Linked DNA regions of Homo sapiens: region 1 is linked to region 2. The links are contacts of gene promoters, found by promoter capture Hi-C in human tissues and cell types (Jung and others, 2019). All regions are on one chromosome and are shown on one strand. Each heading gives the region's core, a stretch centred on a gene start or on the middle of the fragment in contact. The rest is flanking DNA. Distances are from core to core; before and after follow the strand shown.

Region 1 (4,945 bases), core at 460-2,959, 260 kb after region 2:
CAGCAAAACCAAAGCCAAATTGGAATCCAGTTTCAGTGACTCAGTGATACCCAGTCTACACAGCTGGCTGGGGGAGGAGACAAGAGCTTGCAGTGAGCTGGGACCATGCCACTGCACTCCAGCCTGGGCGACAGAGTGAGACTGTCTCAAAAAAAAAAATAATCCATTTAATAGGCCGGGTGTGGTGGCTCACGCCTATAATCTCAACACTTCGGGAGGCCGAGGCAGGTGGATCACCTGAGGTCGGGCGTTCAAGACCAGCCTGGACAACATGGTGAAACCCCACCTCTACTAAAAATACAAAAATTAGCTGGGCCTGTTTCTGGGCACTTGTGGTCCCAGCTACTCAGGAAGCTGAGGCACAAGAATCACTTGAACCCAGAAGGCGGAGGTTGCAGTGAGCCGAAATTACACCACTGCACTCCAGCCTGGTGAGATTGTGCCACTGCACTCCAGCCTGGGCAACAGAGGGAGACTCTCTCAAAAATAATAATAATAAATTACACACCTATTAGGATGGCTACCACTTAAAAAAAAAAGTAACAAGTGTTGTCAAGGATGTAGAGAAATTGTAACCCTGTGCACCATTAGTGGGGGTGTAAAATGGTGTAACCACTATGGAAAACAGGATGGAGGCTCCTCAAAAAATTAAACAGACCTCCCCTATGACCCAGCATTCCTGCTTCCGGGTATACATACAGAAGAATTGAAAGCAGAGTCTCAAAGAGATATTTGTACCACATGTTCAAAGCACTGCCGTTTGCAATAGGCAAGAGGGGAGAACAACCCAGATGTCCACTGCCAGGTGAATGGAAACAAATTATGTCCATGCATACACTGGAATATTATTTAGCCTTTAAAAAGAAGGAAGTCCTGTCACTTGCTGTAACATGGATGAACCTGGAGGACATTAGGCTAAGTGAAATAAACCATCACAGAAAGATAAATACTACTCATGCCTGTAATCCCAGCACTTTGGGAGGCTGAGGCGGGCGGATCATGAGGTCAGGAGATCAAGACCATCCTGACTAACACAGTGAAACCCCATCTGTACTAAAAATACAAAAAATTAGCCAGGCGTGGTGGCACGTGCCTGTAATCCCAGCTACTCAGGAGGCTGAGGCAGGAGAATTGCTTGAACCCAGGTGGAGGATATTGCAGTGAGCCGAGATCATGTCACTGCACTCCAGCCTGGGCAACCAAGCAAGACTCCATCTCAAAAAAAAAGATAAATACTCTATGATTCCACTTCTATGAGCTGTCTACAGCAGTCAAATTCCTAGAACTAGAAAGTAGGATGGTGGTTGCCATTAGCTGCGGGGAGGGGCAGTGGGAATTTGTTTAAAGAGTGCAGAGTTTCACATTTGCAAGATGAACAAGTTCTGGAGATCTGTTTCACAACAATGTAAATATACTTAACACTGCTGAACTATAAATAAGAATGATTACGATGGTAAATTTTATGTTATGCTTTTTACCAAAATTAAAAAAAAATCATTTGGACCATGAATAGATTATATAGGTGAACCTCAAATACACCAAGTTGAGCTATGCTCAAGACAAAAGTCACCATGTACAGGAACACCTGGGAGACACTGTGGGTTCCATTCCAGACCACTACAATAAAACAAGTTTCACAATACCCATGAAGTTTTTGGTGTCCCAGTACATAGAAAAGTTATGTTTCTGTAATAGTATACCATAGTCTATTAAATGCGTCTTAAAAACAATGTACATACCTTAATTTGAAAATACTTTATTGCTAAAAAATAATGCTAGCAATCCTGTGAACATTCAGCAATTCATTATTTTGCTGATGGAGGGTCTGGGCCTTGATGTTGATGTCTGCTGACTCATCAGGGTGGTGGTGATTAAAGGTTGGGGTGGCTGTGGCCATTTCTTAAATTAAGACAACAATGAAATTTGCCGCATCAATTAACTTCCTTTCACAAAAGATTTCTTTGCAGCATGTAATGCAGTTTGATAACATTTTACCCACCGTAGAATTTCTTTCAAAATTGGAGTCAATCCCCTCACACCCAGCCTCTGCTCTGATAACTGAGTTTGTGGAATATTCTAAATCCTTTGTTGTCATCTCAACAATGTTCACAACATCTTCACCAGGAGTAGATTTCATCTCAAGAAACTTTCTTTGCTCATCCATAAGAAGCACCTCCTCATCTTTTCAAGTTCTTTCATGAGATTGCAGTAGTTCAGTCACATCGCCAGACTCCACTTCTAGTTCTCTTGCTGTTTCCACCACATCTGCAGTGGCTTCCTTCATTTAAGTTTTGAATCCCTCAAAGTCATCTGTGAGAGTTGGAATCAGCTTCTTCCAAACTCCTGTTAATGTTGGTATTTGCACTTCCTCCCATGAATCACGAATGTTCTAATGGCATCTGGAATGGGGGATCCTTTCCAGAAGGTTTCAATGGACTCCCTAGACCCATCAGAGGAATCACTATCTATGGCAGCTCTAGCCCTACAAAGTGTATTTCTTAAGTAATAAGACTTGAAAGTCAAACTGCTCTTTGATCCATGGGCTGCAGAACAGATGCTGTGTTTGCAGACAGGAAAACAACATTCATCTCCTTGCATATCTCCGTCAGAGCTCTCTGGTGACCAAGTGCATTGTCAATGAGCAGTAATATTTTGAAATATTAATATTTTTTTCTGAGCAGTAGGTCTCAACAGTAGGCTTAAAATATTCAGTAAACCATGCTGTAAACAGATGTGCTTTGTTGTTCCATTTCTAGAGCACAGGCAGAGTAGATTTAGCATCATTCCTAAGAGCAATAGGAGTTTTGGAATGGTAAGTGAACATTGGCTTCAACTAAAGTTACCAGCTGCATTAGCCTCTGAGAAGAGAGTCAGCCTGTCCTTTGAAGCTTTGAAGCCAGGCATTGCCTTCTCTCTGGCTATGGAAGTCCTAGCTGGCATCTTCTACCAATAGAAGACTGTTCTTCTACATTGAAAATCTATTGTTAGTGTAGCCACCTTCATCAGTGATCTTAGATGGATCTTCTGGAGAACTCGCTGCAGCTTCTCCATCAGCACTTGCTACTTCACCTTGCACTTTTATGCTATGAGGATGGCTTCTTTCCTTAAACCTCCAGAACCAACCTCTGCTAGCTTCCAGCTTTTCTTTAGCTTCCTGACTTCTCTCAGCCTTCACAGAATTGAAGAGAACTAGGGCCTTGCTCTGGATTAGGCTTTGACTTAAGGGAATGTTGTGGCTGGTTTGATCTTCTATCCAGACCACTCAAACTGTCTCCATATCAGCACTAAGGCTGTTTTGCTTTCTTATTATTCATGTGTTCATTGAAGTAGCACTTTAAATTTCCTTCAAGAAGCTTTCCCTTTGCATTCAGAGCTTGGCTAACTGTTTGGCCCAAGAGGCCTAGTTTTTGGCCTGTCTCCGATTTTGACATGCCTTCCTCACTAAGCTTAATCATTTCCAGTTTTTTATTTAAACTGAGAGACATGCAACTCTTCCTTTCAGTTGAACACTTAGAGGGCACTGTACGGTAATTTATTGGCTTAATTTCAATATAGCAATATCTCAGGAAATAGGCTGGAGGAGAGGGAGAGAGACAAGGCAGTGGCCGGTCAGTGGAGCAGGGAGAACACACACAGCATTTATCAGTGAAGCTCACCGTCTCATATGGGAACAGTTCATGGCACCCCAAAACAATTATAATAGTAACATAAAAGATCACTGATCACAGATCACCATAACAGATATGATAATAATGAAAAATTCGGGAATACTGTGAGAATTACCAAAATGTGACACAGAGACATGACGTGAGCACATACTGCTGGAAAGTCGCTCCAGCGGACTTGCTTGGTGTGGGGGTGCCACAAACCTCAAATTCATAAAAAACATCCTATCTGAAGGCCAGGTACAGTGGCTCATGCCTGTAATCCCAACACTTTGGGAAGCCAAGGTGGGCAGATCACAAGGTCAGGGGTTCGAGACCAGCCTGGCCAACATGGTGAAACCCCATCTCTACTAAAAATACAAAAATTAGCTGGGTGTGGTGGCCCGCGGCTGTAGTCTCAATTACTCAGGAGGCTGAGGCAGGAGAATCGCTTGAACCGGAGAGGTGGAGGTTGCAGTGAGCCGAGATCACACCACTGCACTCAAGCCTGGGCAACAGAGCAAGACTCTGTCTCAAAAAAAAAGAAAGAAAAACATCATATCTGTGGAGTGTGATAAAGTGAAGCACAATAAAACAAAGTCACCTGTATCATGTACATTGCCGCTTGCATATATAGTTAATCTTTTCTCTTTTTATTTTTCCCAGTAATGCCATCGGTCCCCTGGTAGCCTTGTGGCTGATTTACAAACAAGGCGGGGTAACGCAAGAAGCAGCTACACCCGTCTGGCTGCTGTTTTATGGAGGAGTTGGAATCTGCACAGGCCTCTGGGTCTGGGGGAGAAGAGTGATCCAGACCATGGGGAAGGACCTCACTCCCATCACGCCGTCCAGGTAAGCCTGGGCTGGTGGACGAGCAGGGCAGGTCTTGTCATCCGAGGCCTGGGTAGAGCTTCCCGGCTGTGTCTGAACGGCCTGCTCAGCACTGGCAGTTGGCAGCGGGTCACAGGGAGGAGGAGACAGTGGGCAAGAATGGCCCCACCTAGCATGCCACCTATCCTTGCCCTCCCTTACTGTGCCCGGCCCCCAGCCACAGCGTCCCTGAGATGAGGAGTGGGAAGGGCAGACAAGCAGGGGTAGTGGAGCAGAGCAGGCAGGGAAGAGAGGAGAAGCTCACCCTCAGCCAGCACGGGGGCCAAAGGCAGGTGGGCAGGGAGGGCACAGACTTAAACAGGCCCCTGGGCTGGCCTTTCCTGAAAGTTCTCTGGCCACCCCAGCTCTCAGCAACCACCCTGCTGGGGTTACTTTCCTCTTGCTCTGCCAGACAGGGAGGCGCCCCCTGC
Region 2 (5,048 bases), core at 1,330-3,829:
TTTGGTATATTTTGTTTCTTCCTTCCACTATTGCCGCCTCGTCAAAAAAAAAAAAAAAAAAAGCATACCACAAATATGGCAGCCTCTTCCGTCACCCATGGAGCTAGCCCTCATGGTGAAATCAAAGAATGCATATTCAATGGATTCTTGATAGCATGAGACCTTTTTCTTCTTTTTTTGAGACCGAGTTTCGCTCTTGTTGCCCAAGCTGGAGTGCAGTGGTGTGATCTCGGCTTTCTGCAACCTCTGCCTCCCAGGTTCAAGCGATTCGATTCTTCTGCCTCAGTCTCCCGAGCAGCTGGGATTACAGGCGTGTGCCACCACGCCTGGCTAATTTTTTGTATTTTTAGTAGAAACGGAGTTTCACCATGTTGGTCAGGCTGGCCTCAAACTCCTGACCTCAGGTGATCTGCCTACCTTGGCCTCCCAAAGTGTTGGGATTACAGGTGTGAGCCATGATGCCCAGCTGAGAGCTTATTAGAAAATGGCTTTGTTTTTATTTCCTCTTGCATTCCTAGACACTGGAACCATTCCTAGGATACAGTAGATGCTCAATAAGTATTTATTGAATGAATAAACACATTGTGTCTTATCATATCATCATGTTGTAAGAGAGATGGGAAGATAAATAAGATACACCTCCTGCTTTTTGAGAGCAGATAGCACACACAAAATATGAAATAGCAATATGAGAGACAACCCATGGCCACACCCAAGGCTCCTTTTTACCAAAGCCAGAAATATAAAAATGAAGGGGTTGCCTCTTGTAATTTGAAAAAAGTAGTTTTGCATAACAAAAAGAAACTATTTTGTTTACAATGAATAGTAAAGTTAAAAAATGTAAGGAAATATGGGACAGATTTAAAAATATGAGCAGATGCTGATGGATCTAGAAATACAGATGTAAGATTTATCACAGGTTATTAGATTTATTATAGATCTGTGAAAGATTACACAATCTTCCCAAACTCTTCCAGCCCACACAATGGAGACCAATGCCAGAGGCCAAGCAATTCCAGTTTTCTTATGTAATCATGATTGTACACAGAGGACGAGACTTAGCTGAACCAAGAGAGTTTATGCTAAACACCCTCGCTAACCATTGAGAGAAATCATTCCTTGGGAAAAGAGTGGTAAGAATCAATTGTCTTATAATAAATAGAATAATAAAGACAGAAAAACATCAGACACACGTACATTAATGGTAAGCTCAAACACACAGAATTTTCTTATCATTTTTGTGATTGGCAAACTGCATTCAAGACTTTGAAAAGTCCAAATTTCATGATATTTGAAAGTGAGTTTGAGGCTTTCTGCATTTAGAAATTCCTGTTTGACTTTGAGTCCTTGGTCTGAGAAAAGGCGTTTTTGACAACAGGATAATGTTCAGGTGCCTCGCAGCCTTGGGAACTTGAAATGTAGAATTTATTTCTGGATTTGGGCAAATCTCCCTTAGTGTCTCCAGTTCTCCATTTGAAAATTACAATAATCAAACGTGGCAAAAATACTACTGAGAAATTAATACAAATTGCTAGTGAACTGACACTTTTCTCACCATCTGGCTGCGGTTTCAGATGGTTTCTGATTCAATGGGGGAAAACTTTCTGTTCTCAAGTTACACAAAAAGTGAAAAGATTCCCAAACCCAGGAAATTGGCAGGTGCAAATGACCAATCCCCAAAGCCTTTCAGTACTTTATTCCCCTTTCTTTTTCTCTTTTTGTTCTTTCTCTGCATCTCTGTCTCTATCTTTCACTTTTTCCTTTTATTTGTCCTTTATCCTTATCAAAAATTCCTCTATTTTCAGTTGATAATAGTCACATAAAACACATAGAGTTTTGATACATTGGTGTTTAATTGTGATATATAAACATGCTAAATCTACCTACATACACAGATTTATTAAAATATATAGGCCTACAGGGCATATTGGACAAAATTAAATATCTACATGCAGATATAGAAATTATTGGTAAATATGATAGAAAAATGTTGATATAGTAAATTTCTGTGCCAAATATTTGAACAATTCTCTGAGTAATGCTCAGTGCATTCAATAATGTTTTTCCTGCTTTTGTATTTTCTTACCAAGCTCATAGTGATTCAGAAGGAGAAACGCAGCAAATGACAAAAACATAAACATTATGAAAATCATAGATATGATTTCTTCAGCAAAAAAAACCCCACATCTCACAGAATTACTCATTTGGGCCACATTTTAAAGGTTATCCTAAATGTATCTTGTGCATTACATATTGTAATTCTAACATTATCAACACCATAGTTTTGCCTCCTCTGCTTAAATAATTCTGCAACTGTAGTTTTAATTTACTGTGACTTGTGCTTACCTGAGGAAGGGATGCCAAGGACGATGAGAACCAGCATAAAATCTGGGAGCATCGTGATGTCAGTTTCAGAAAGACAGTTTCTTCCTTTTTAACAACAGAGCATTTCCACTGGAAAAGGGGGTTTTGAAAAGAAAATACAGGGGTTCAAAATCCGAAGTGGAACCCAAGAGGACAGCAACACCTGGAGTGGAATAAAACAATCTCAACCCCTCTCGCCGAGTGTGCCGCTTCTCAAAGTGCACTTCATTGATTTGCAGTCAGCTGTCAGATCGTGTAAGTCTAAAACATATCTCTGGGTCCTAACTCCTGACTTATTAATTTACTCCCTTGCAAGAGATGCGGGGCACTGGAGAAAGGATGAAACTAGACAACTTCTGAATGTTCTGTGCTATTTTTCTTACAGTTGGAGATCTGCGTACAGAAGAACCACACTTTACCACATCCATAGTGAAAAGTTTCTCATCCCCGTTATTTCTCTATTCTCTTTTCTTTTTCTTTTTATTCTTTTTTTTTTTTTTTTGATATGGAGTCTCACTCTGTCACCCAGGCTGGAGTGCAATGGTGCAATCTCGGCTCACTGCAACCTCCGTCTCCCAGGTTCAAGCCATTCTCCCACCTCAGCCTCCTGAGTAGCTGGGATTATAGGCACCTGCCATCATGCCCAGCTAATTTTTGTATTTTTGTAGAGACAGGGTTTCACCATGTTGGCCAGGTTGGTCTTGAACTCCTGACCTCAGGAGATCCGCCCGCCTTGGCCTCCCAAAGTGGTGGGATTACAGGCATGAACCACTGCGCCCAGCCTCTCTATTCTCTTTTCCAGTTGGACCTGAAGTCATGAGTATGTCCTGGAGCCTCCCTATTCTGCTGGTTCCCACATGTGTTAATATCAGCACATTCTCTGTGGCTCCCTTGACCCCACCAGGCCCACCTTCTGGTCACTGCAGGGGACAGTAGGGTGGGAGGTTAGTGGTGTTTTATGTATGAGACTTGGACACTAATAACACCATCCTTTCTTCTTCACAGTTGATCAGATTTCATCTAGTTCAGTGCTGTGCACACCCAGAGGGCCCTTGATAAATGCATGATACATCAAATGAATGGCAAGTACAAAGTCAGGGCTAGACAGACAAGAGGGCCAGGTGGGAGCCAAGACCTATCTGGTTGGGAACTGAGTGCTGGAGGAACCCACTCCAGGGCATGGAGGAATTCTGTCTTAGCGGCAGTGATTTAGTCCAATTTTTAAATTTCTTAATTTAACCCTCCTCTGTGTGCCATTAGTGAGTTTGAGACACCCAGAGGGTGCTCGGTAAGGAGGCATCATGTGTGGAAAAGAGGTCTAGCCCAGGACCCCGGGACCCTGAGCTCTTGAGCCCTGTCTGTTCCTCAGGGCCCCTGTCTCAGAGCCCCTCACATCACAATGTCGCTGCCCTGCCTGGCCTCCCTTCCTAGACCACCAGCTCCTGCAGGAGGGCTTGGTCTCCAGCCCTCTGGAGTCTCCTCTGTATCTCTCTGTGTCCAGGGCCTGACACCTGCAAATGCTTGAGAACGTTGTGGGAATGCAAGGAGGAAGGAAGGAGCCATGCACTGATTTCCTCCTATCCATCTCAACTGTGCTCCCAGCCTGCTGAGAATTTGTAATGGTCTCAGGAGTAAATCAGCCACCGCCAATCCAAGTGTGCAGGAAGTTTCACCTTTATTTTCAAGAAATTGAATAAAATGAAGCTAGCCTTCCATGGAACTGGCTGGAAATCCAATCTCAGTCATTGCAGGCCCTGCAGCCTTCTCCCTAGGGGAGCAACTGAATCTGGAAGCCTTTTGTGGTCCCCAAAATATGGCACAGTCTTGTATCCTCCAGGCTGCCTTGACCACAGCTGGGGTCCATGCCCCACCCACACGGTCCCATGGAGCCAACAGCTCGGTTGCTCTTTGCCTTCTCCGATGCCAAGGATTCTGCCAAGACCCAGGATTCTGCCAATACCGGAGGCCTTGGTAACAGGACCCTGCCTCCCTGGGTCCCACACAACCCTGGCCTGCTGAGGACTGCACCCCTTGAGTGCAACCCTGAGCAGGGCACGGTCCTGCTGCCAGAAGGACCTGCCAGCCCCTTCCTATGCCTTGGGAAGTTCTTTTCTGTCTCACTTTACAGCCACCTTTCTCCCTGCAAAGATACTCAACTCTTCACCATCCCACTGTAGAAACCTCAAATCATCTCTCCATTGAGTTTAGACTTTGGGGGGAAAAGCGGACATCAAATAGACACAGGAAAAGAGGCTGTCTTGCTCTGTTGCCCAGGCTGGAGTGCAGTGGCGCAATCTCGCCTCACTACAACCTTCACCTCCCAGGTTCAAGCAATTCTCCTGCCTCAGCCTCCTGAGTAGCTGGGATTACAGGTGTCCACCAGCACGTGCAGGTAATTTTTATATTTTTAGTAGAAACAGGGTTTCACCATATTGGCCAGGCTAGTCTCGAACTCCCAACCTCCAGTGATCCAACTGCCTCATCCTCCCAAAGAGCTGGGATTACAGGTGTGAGCCACTGTGCGAGCCCGGCCAGGTGTGCTTTCAATTGAAGATGTAAGTTCTGATTGGCATTTAGTAATCATGAAAGCAGTGTAATCCTAATACTACATTTCAAGACCACTTACAGTCCATGATTCTAATCCAATCACCATCAATGCTTTACTTCCTTCCAGTGCACACACA

Evidence for each region. The method cuts DNA at HindIII sites, captures the fragments that hold promoters and counts their contacts. A contact is called where the count stands out against the background at its distance.
Region 1: a contact is called between a fragment that was not itself captured here and the fragment with the promoter of CHRNB3 in region 2, in 2 of the 25 tissues and cell types used here (hippocampus and pancreas).

Annotation. Positions count from the first base shown.
Region 1 is chr8:42,429,615-42,434,559 of GRCh38, reverse strand. SLC20A2 (solute carrier family 20 member 2) reads left to right here. Exons shown (of 11, transcript NM_001257180.2): 9 at 4,311-4,496. Among named protein-coding and RNA genes, the nearest start is that of VDAC3, 40 kb to the right of the region's middle. The HindIII fragment of the contact is 7,335 bases long and covers 1-4,945 here.
Region 2 is chr8:42,694,897-42,699,944 of GRCh38, reverse strand. It overlaps CHRNB3 (cholinergic receptor nicotinic beta 3 subunit), which reads right to left and starts at 2,579. Exons shown (of 6, transcript NM_000749.5): 1 at 2,347-2,579. The coding sequence starts at 2,398. It overlaps LOC124900250 (a long non-coding RNA gene), which reads left to right and starts at 1,054. Exons shown (of 3, transcript XR_001745887.2): 1 at 1,054-1,133; 2 at 2,445-2,619; 3 at 3,370-3,447. The HindIII fragment of the contact is 12,880 bases long and covers 1-5,048 here.